2 separate regions of the Homo sapiens genome follow, and region 2 is linked to region 1. The links are contacts of gene promoters, found by promoter capture Hi-C in blood cells and fetal thymus (Javierre and others, 2016). All regions are on one chromosome and are shown on one strand. Each heading gives the region's core, a stretch centred on a gene start or on the middle of the fragment in contact. The rest is flanking DNA. Distances are from core to core; before and after follow the strand shown. Region 1 overlaps GMEB2 (glucocorticoid modulatory element binding protein 2). Region 2 holds the start of ZBTB46-AS1 (ZBTB46 antisense RNA 1).

Region 1 (4,074 bases), core at 485-2,984:
TTTTTTTTTTGAGACAGAGTCTCACTCTGTAACCCAAGCTGTATTGCAGTGGCACAATCACAGCTCACTGCAGCCTTGACTTCCAGGCTCCAGTGATCCTTCCACCTTAGCCTCTCGAGCAGCTGGGACCACAGGCATATGTCACCAAATCCAGATAATTTTTTTTTTATTTTTAGTAGAGATGAGGTCTCATTATTGTGCCCAGGCTGGTCTCAAACTCTTGGCGTCAAGTGATCCTCCTGCCTCAGCCTCCTAAAGTGTTGGGATTGCAGGTGTGAGCCATGTGCCCAGCCAACCCTTTATTTTACAACGCTGAAACAGTCACAAGTGCCTTCAGGTAAAGAATTGGTGGAAATTAAAATGACTGACAAAACAATTCTAAAAATCTGATAGTGTCCCTGTTGGCAGGAGTGTGGGAGACGGGTTTACAGTTTTGGGTGTGAGCAGGTGCAGCAGCCACCCGGGAGGTTGTCAGCACTCACCACATCTAAAATACGCCTCATCTTCAAAATCCCAAAACCCCACAAGAAAGCAAGAGCTGCCAGGGCCCCTTCCAGCAGGGAGGCTGACCCTGCGCCAGCGCCCACCTGAGCATGATGCCGTTCATGCGGATGGCTCTCTTCCAGTCCTTCAGGGTGGACTTCCCGGCCAGGTGCACAAATTCCTTTGGGCTGATTACATGCTCGTCGTACTGTGGGGGACACAGTCATGTGGGTCAAGCTTGGCCGGGACACCACATAGGGTGCCCCCATCTCCCATCCGACCCTGAGTCAGGCGCGCAAGGCAGGAAAAGCGCCACGGCACGGCTCTGACCGGTGCAGGCCTCCTACAGAGCATTCAGGTAAAACAAGGACATGACCCACAGGCACGGTGGCTGCAGTGGGGAGTGGTGTCTCCTCCAGCCCTGAGGGGGCAGAGCTGCTGTGTGCCTGGGGCTAGACAGGGCTGGGCTGACCACACCAGGTAGAAGGTGTGTGGCCTTCTCTTCCTCCAGGCAGACTAAGCAAACTGCTTCTGTGCAATGTATTTTATAAATACACGTTATTGCATACGTTACATCGCAGATGGCAACAGATGCCAGCACATGGGTGGAGCTGTGAACGCCACCTTCCTCAGGTCCCTCCTGACACCACCTTGCCCCGTGCAGCAAACACCGGCACCTGCTCTCACTCTGACACACACACACACACACACACACACACACTCATCTGTTTCTAAGCCAGGGGAACCCTCCTGCTTGCTAATTTCACCCATGTGGGAGCTCAGAGAAACTGAGAAGGTAAAATATCCTGTTCAATCTTGTTACACAAGCAATTATTGAAACCAAAAACTGGAATAAAACTGCATTTACTTAGAAAACAAGCAGGCTGGGGATGGAGGAGTCACGAGGTCTCTGCAGCTGGACCCAGGAGGCCCGAGTACGGGGGCCGCCTCCACCCCCGGGCCGTGCCCAAGTCTAGCTTGCTGAAGGAAGTGATGTTCCCAATCCCTGAGCCCACCCTCTCATGACCCCTGTGCCACAGACGGGAACACTAAGCCCAGCCAGTCTCTGGCTCTCCCTCATGCGGCTGATCAGGGAGATCCCATAGAAGTCCAGAAGGTGGAATCCAGAAGATTCTCTGGCCACTGTCGGAGCCTGGCAGGAAGGCTGCACTGGCTGTGACTGAGGCTGCTTCCGGCCATCACTTCTACCCAACGTGGCTCACACCTAGGAAACTCAACTGCACCCAAAGGGCCTGATCCTACCTAGGGCTCTGGGCTCAGCCAGCCTCACCTCCCTGCCCCTCCTAGGCCTGCCTCTTTCCTTTCTTGCTTTCACCTTTGTTACTCTTCTCACCCCAGGTTTTCCTCTCCCAGCTAGGAAGCTACATGCTGTACTCTCATGAGTGGCTCCAGGAGCTTCAGCATGTCACGCTTACCAGAGCTGCCAGAGCCCAGAGCTAACGCGGCCACTCCTGACCCCCCAGAGCTAACGCAGCCGCTCCTGACCCTCCAGCGCTAACGCGGCCCGCTCCTGACCCCCCGGAGCTAACGTGGCCGCTCCTGACCCCCCGGAGCTAACTCGGCCCGCTCCTGACCCTCCAGACCACAGCCACGTGGCCCTGCTCTCATCTCTGAGGCCCTCCAGGGCGTCTCTCTCGATGCTGAATAGACAGGACTGGTCGGGTGACCCACGTTTCCCCGACTCTTCACACCTCCTCACAGCACAGCGCTTCCATCTGGAGGCCTCCTATCTCCGCCTGCAATGCATATTTAGAACATCCTTCCATCATGATCTGCTGGTGGCAAACTCGTGTCTTTTTCTGGAAACGTCTTTCTTCCAGCATAATTTCAAAGACGACCTCACGGTGTCGTCACTCGCCACACAGTGAGGCTCTGGCGCTGCCACCTCTGCTCCTGCGCTGCTTTCGGGAGCTCACGGCCGGCGGGATTCTTGCTACTGAGCGATCCGTCTCTCCTCCTGGCTAGACTGAGGATCTTCTCTGTCCCCGTCCTTCTGGAATTTCATTATGATGTCACCTATGGTACATTTCTTTCGTGTTTCCAACTTCTAATTCTAATACAATTTCAAACTCACAGGGTAATTGCCAGGATAGTCCAGGGAGCTCTCACACGTGCGTTCCGGACTCACTGCCTGCTCCCGTCTGCCCCCTTGCCCCCGCCTAGACCTGTGCACGTGCAGCTACTGAGAGTGAAGCAGAGACGTCGGGCCCCTGGGCCCTCAACACTTGTGTATATTTCCTAAGAACAAGCTTCTCTTACGCAGCCACAGAACAACTCGCATCAGGAAATTATCATTCATACATTATTCTCTAATCCATTGTCCATAGTCAAATTCATGAATTGTTCCAATGATAGCCTTTATTGCAAAAAAAAAATTTTTTTTTTTGAGATGGAGTCTCACTCTGTCGTCCAGGCTGGAGTGCACTGGTGCAATCTTGGGCTCACTGCAACCTCCGCCTCCCGGGTTCAAGAGATTCTCTTGCCTCAGCCTCCCGAGTAGCTGGGAGTACAGGCACATGCCACCATGCCTGGCCAATTTTTTTGTATTTGTCGCAGAGATGGGGTTTCACCATGTTGGCTGCGCTGGTCTCGAACTCCTGACCTCAGGTGATTCACCCGCCTCGGCCTCCCAAAGTGCTGGGATTACAGGCGTGAGTCACCATGCCCAGCCTACATTTTTTTCTGATGCAGGATCCAGCCCAAGACTGTGGAGCATGCAGCTGCCTTGCTCTTCGGCTTTTGTCCCCATTAAGACTGCAGCAGGCCGGGCGCGGTGGCTCACGCCTGTAATCCCAGCACTTTGGGAGGCCAAGGCGGGCAGGTCACCTGAGGTCAGGAGTTCGGGCTCAGCCTGGCCAACATGGCAAAACCCCATCTCTACTAAAAATACAAAAATCAGCCAGGCATGGTGGTGGGTGCCCGTAGTCCCAGCTACTCAGGAGGCTGAGGCAAGAGAATCACTTGAACCCAGGAAGCGGAGGTTGCGGTGAGCCAAGATCGCGCCATTGCACTCCAGTCTGGGCAACAGAGGAAGACTCCATCTCAAAAAAAAAAAAAAAAAAAAAAGACGGAGCAGCTTCTCAGCCTGTCTGTGTTTTTCTTCACCTTGACGTTTTTGGAGCTTGTGGGTCAGGTATTAACGTAGGCTGTCTCTCCATGAGTGTCTGCTGTTTTCTCATGAGTAGAGTCAGGCTATGAACTGTTGGAAGAACACCACAGACCTGCTCACTGCATCAGGAGGCTCAAAGGGGAGGTCTGTCCCGAGCCTGATGATGTGAAGATGGATCGCTGGGTTAAGGAGGCACCTGCCAGCTTTCCCACCACAGCTACGACTTACGTCTGCAATGGCTGCATGGTTTACAGGGATGCTCTGAAACTAGTCTGAGCACCCGCTCATGACTCTGACCCCATCATTCCTCCCATGCTTTACTTCTCTCTATGCATTTATTTAACATAAATAAATAACATGAAATATATGGAGATAGGTATATAGACTCATAGATTTTATTTTACTCGAGTGATGACCCATGACTATCACTATTTATTTGGATGCTAAAAGCCACCCTACAT
Region 2 (4,074 bases), core at 515-3,014, 210 kb after region 1:
CAGGAAAATTGCTTGAACCCGAGAGGCAGAGGTTGCAGTGAGCCGAGAACATATCACTGCACTCCAGCCCAGGCAACAACAGTGAAACTCCATCTCAAAAAAAAAAAAAAAAGAAAGAAAAGAAAGCTAATCAGCTTAACAAGGCAAGAAAACTATTTGTGTACATTTTAAATCTGAGATACTGCTATGGCTAACTCTGACCTGAAATGGTAACTTCAAAAAAAATAGAACCTAAATAAGAAGGTTGTAATACCTGCTTAAAATAAAGGCAACACTATGCTCTCAAGGAATATGATGGAATCTTTCTCTTTTTTTGAGATGGAATCTGGCTCTGTCACCCAGGCTGGAGTGCAACGGTGCGACCTTGGCTCACTAAAACCTCCACCTCCCACGTTCAAGCGATTCTCCTGCCTCAGCCTCCCATGTAGCTGGGACTACAGGCGCCCACCACCACGCCCAGCTAATTGTTTTGTTTTGGTTTTTTTTTTTGAGATGGAGTCTCGCTCTGTCGGCCAGGATGGAGTGCAGTGGCGCCATCTCGGCTCACTGCAAGCTCCGCCTCCCAGGTTCACGCCATTCTCCTGCCTCAGCCTCCTGAGTAGCTGGGACTACCAGCGCCCGCCACCACACCCGGCTAATTTTTTGTATTTTTAGTAGAGACGGGGTTTCACCGTGTTAGCCAGGATAGTCGCGATCTCCTGACCTCATGATGCACCTGCCTCGGCCTCCCAAAGTGCTGGGATTACAGGCGTGAGCCACCACGCCTGGCCAGGATTGGTGTTAATTCTTAAAATGTTTGATAGAATTCAACAGTGAAGTGATATATACAATCATATACATATATAGAGAGAGACAGAGATGGACTTTTCTTTTGTTGGAAGTTTATTGACTATTGATTCAATTTCTTTATTGAAATTGACTTTTCTTTTTGGAAGCTAAAAAGTACAATAACTGTAGTGAAAGTTTCTGAACTTTTCTTTCATTGGAAGTTTTTTGACTACTGATTCTTTATTTGTTATAGGTCTATTCAGATTTTCTGTTTCTTCTTGAGTCAGTTTGGTCTCGCTCTGTCACCCAGGCTGGAGTGCAGTGGCGCCATCTTGGCTCACTGCAACTTCTACCTCCCGAGTTCGAGTGATTCTCCCACCTCAGCCTCCCCAGTATCTCGGACTACAGGCGCACGCCAGCATACCTGGCTAATTTTTGCATTTTTAGTAGGAACGGGGTTTCACCATGTTGGCCAGGCTGGTCTCGAACTCCTGGCCTCAAGCAATCTGCCCGCCTCGGCCTCCCAAAGTGTTGGGACTACAGGTGTGAGCCACCGCGCCCGGCCTTCAGCTACTCCATTTTTTAACATTTTGCCGCATTTGTTTACATCAAGCAATATGATAGAATCCCTAACCAGTTACTTTTTGCTTAAAAGCTGTACTAGGCCAAAACAAGCGAAGCACCCGTCTGTGTGAGGCAGCGGGTCTGGCTTACAGGCGGCGCCTCAGGGCTCGCTCCCCCTCCGAGCGGGTCTCACTCCCAGAGCGGGGCTCGCCCGGTGTCTGGCCTCCGAGGCCGTGTGCCCAAGTCCCCACCTTGTGCGGCACAGGCCCTTCCCACAGGGGACACTCACGGAAGCTGAACGGACCTTCCCACAGGAGACACTCACGGAAGCTGAACGGACCTTCCCACAGGGGACACTCACGGAAGCTGAACGGACCTTCCCACAGGGGACACTCACGGAAGCTGAACGGACCTTCCCACAGGGGACACTCACGGAAGCTGAACGGACCGACGGAGGTGGCGTGGATGAGCAGCAGCCGCCTGAGCAGTGAGGAAACCCCGCGGACAGCGCGGTAAGGACCCCACCCAGATTACTGGATTTCACCACCGGCCGCCTTCGATGGAGGAGTCCTCAGTCTCCACATCCGCACGGCACAGACGGAGGGGGGGCCCATGGGGCCCCAGCGATGAACCTGTCAGGGGTCCCCTGTACCCTGTAGGCCAGTCAAGCCATCCTTCCCAGCCCTTGCCCCGGGGGCTGAGCGCAGGGGAGGGCCCGGAAGGCAGACGCCACGGAGCCCGGGGCTTCAGGGGGGCGTGGGGCGGAAGCGGGGCCAGGGCGGAGGTCACGGACAGGGTCATCCGGACCCACAAGGAGTCTCAGCCCCGGGCCCGGCGGGAGGGAAGGGGGAAGCCAGGCTCTTCCTCCTAGGGCAGGGCCTGGGCTCCGGGGCAGTGTGACCTCCCGCCCCTAAGCGAGTCCTGCCTCCCCATGAGACCTGAGCTCCTCCAGCGTGGGTGGGAGGCGGACAGAGCCTCCCCCAGAGAAGGCCCTCCTCGGTCCAGCGCTCGGCCAGGACAGGCGCCAAGGCCGCCTTAAGAAATAAAACCAGCAGGCGCGGTGGCTCACGCCTGTAATCCCAGCACTTTGGGAGGCCGAGGCGGGCGGATGGTGAGGTCAGGAGATCAAGACCATCCTGGCTAACATGGTGAAACCCCGTCTCTACTAAAAAATACAAAAAAAAATTAGCCGGGCGTGGTGGGGGCGCCTGCAGTCCCAGCTACTCGGGAGGCTGAGGCAGGAGAATGGCGGGAACCCGGGGGGCGGAGCTTGCGGTGAGCCGAGATGGCGCCACTGCACTCCAGCCTGGGCGGCAGAGCGAGACTCCGCTTCAAAAAAAAAAAAAAAAAAAAAAAGAAAAAGAAAAAAAAAAAAGAAAGAAAACTCCATGATTCATGAGGTAAGACCTGGGAGCTGGCGGCTCGGTGCTCCGGTGCTGCAGAGGCACTCAAGGGGCTCTCCACGTTCGCCTTCCACGTTCCCCTTCGCAGGGACCGCAGCGCCTGGGGCACTTCGCCATGGGCTTGGCCGAAGTGGGCACTAAAGGTGCAGACTCGGTGGAGCCAAGGGGGGCAAGGTCAGCAGCCCTGGGGGCGCAGCCCTGGGGGCCCCGCCGTGGGCCACGCCCAGCGCGTCCAGTCCTCATGGCCGCGTCTATTCCAGGAATGGGGTCCTGGGGTTCGGCACAGGCCTGCTGGGGTGGTGGCCCCACATCTTGCCTGTGTCCCCCCATATTATGCCCAAGGGAGCAACAAAGGCCACCCCTGGGTCCAGGCCTCAGGAGCTCACAGGAGCCCTGAGCCCAGAAGACAGCAGCGCCCTCACGCGGTCCTCAGCAAACCTGCCAGAGCCCAGCAGGTGGAGAGGACTCCGGGAGACAGCAGGAGCTCCGCGACCTCCCTTCCTCTCCCCTCTTCTCCCTTACGAAGTTAGCCGTGTGGTGGCCAGTGTGGCTTAACTCAATGATACAATTTTAAAGATTTCTGGAAAGGACTTAAAAGACACGTGCTTAACTCTGAGAAAAGATTTCAAGGCCAGGCCAGAATGGTGGCTCATGCCTGAAATCCCAACGCTGAGGGAAGCCGGGGCGAGCAGATGGCTTGAGCCCAAAAGTTCAAGACCAGCCTGGGCAACATGGTGAGACCCCATCTCTACAAAAAATAGAAAAAATTAGCCGGGCATGGTGGTGCACACCTGTAGTCCCCGCGACTCTGGAGGATGAAGTGGGAGGATCCCTTGAGTCGGGAGGTCGAGGTTGGAGTGAGCCAAGATGGCACCACTGTACTCCGGCATGGGTGACACAGCAAGGCCCTCTCTCAAAAAAAAAAAAAGAAAAGAAAACTCTAAATACATGGAACTGGCAAACATTAACGTAATGTCAATTACAAAGGTGGCCGTGACACAGGAGGCCCAGAGTGGGGCGGCCCTTGAAGCAGCCTGCAGCGTGGGGATGAGGCCTACAGATGCCTCTGCCTCTTTGACTAATTCCACTTCTGAGACTCTGCCCCAAGGAAATAACCCAAAAAGCTAATTGGTTCCAAGATGTTCCAAGCACTGCTATGGCTAACAGTGACAAACAGAAAAAGACCCAAACACTCGACAATTCGAAGATGGCCCAGAAAACCGTCAAGTATTAAAACTGAGCAAAACCCAATTCCAGGAACATTAAAAATGCCAGTCACGTGGATGCTTAGAAGTTTATCAGAAATTAACGGGAAGAAATGAGAACAGAAAGCCCAGCT

What was found. The method cuts DNA at HindIII sites, captures the fragments that hold promoters and counts their contacts. A CHiCAGO score of 5 or more calls a contact.
Region 2: the fragment with the promoter of ZBTB46-AS1 here is called in contact with a fragment that was not itself captured in region 1 in 1 of 17 cell types (monocytes); the score reaches 5.3 in monocytes.

Annotation. Positions count from the first base shown.
Region 1 is chr20:63,597,170-63,601,243 of GRCh38, forward strand. GMEB2 (glucocorticoid modulatory element binding protein 2) reads right to left here. Exons shown (of 10, transcript NM_012384.5): 5 at 588-691. Among named protein-coding and RNA genes, the nearest start is that of HELZ2, 25 kb to the left of the region's middle. RefSeq lists an enhancer at 637-806. The HindIII fragment of the contact is 2,033 bases long and covers 719-2,751 here.
Region 2 is chr20:63,806,312-63,810,385 of GRCh38, forward strand. ZBTB46-AS1 (ZBTB46 antisense RNA 1) reads left to right here and starts at 1,765. Exons shown (of 3, transcript NR_110081.1): 1 at 1,765-1,844. All of the region lies in intron 1 of ZBTB46 (zinc finger and BTB domain containing 46), which reads right to left. The HindIII fragment of the contact is 29,160 bases long and covers 1-4,074 here.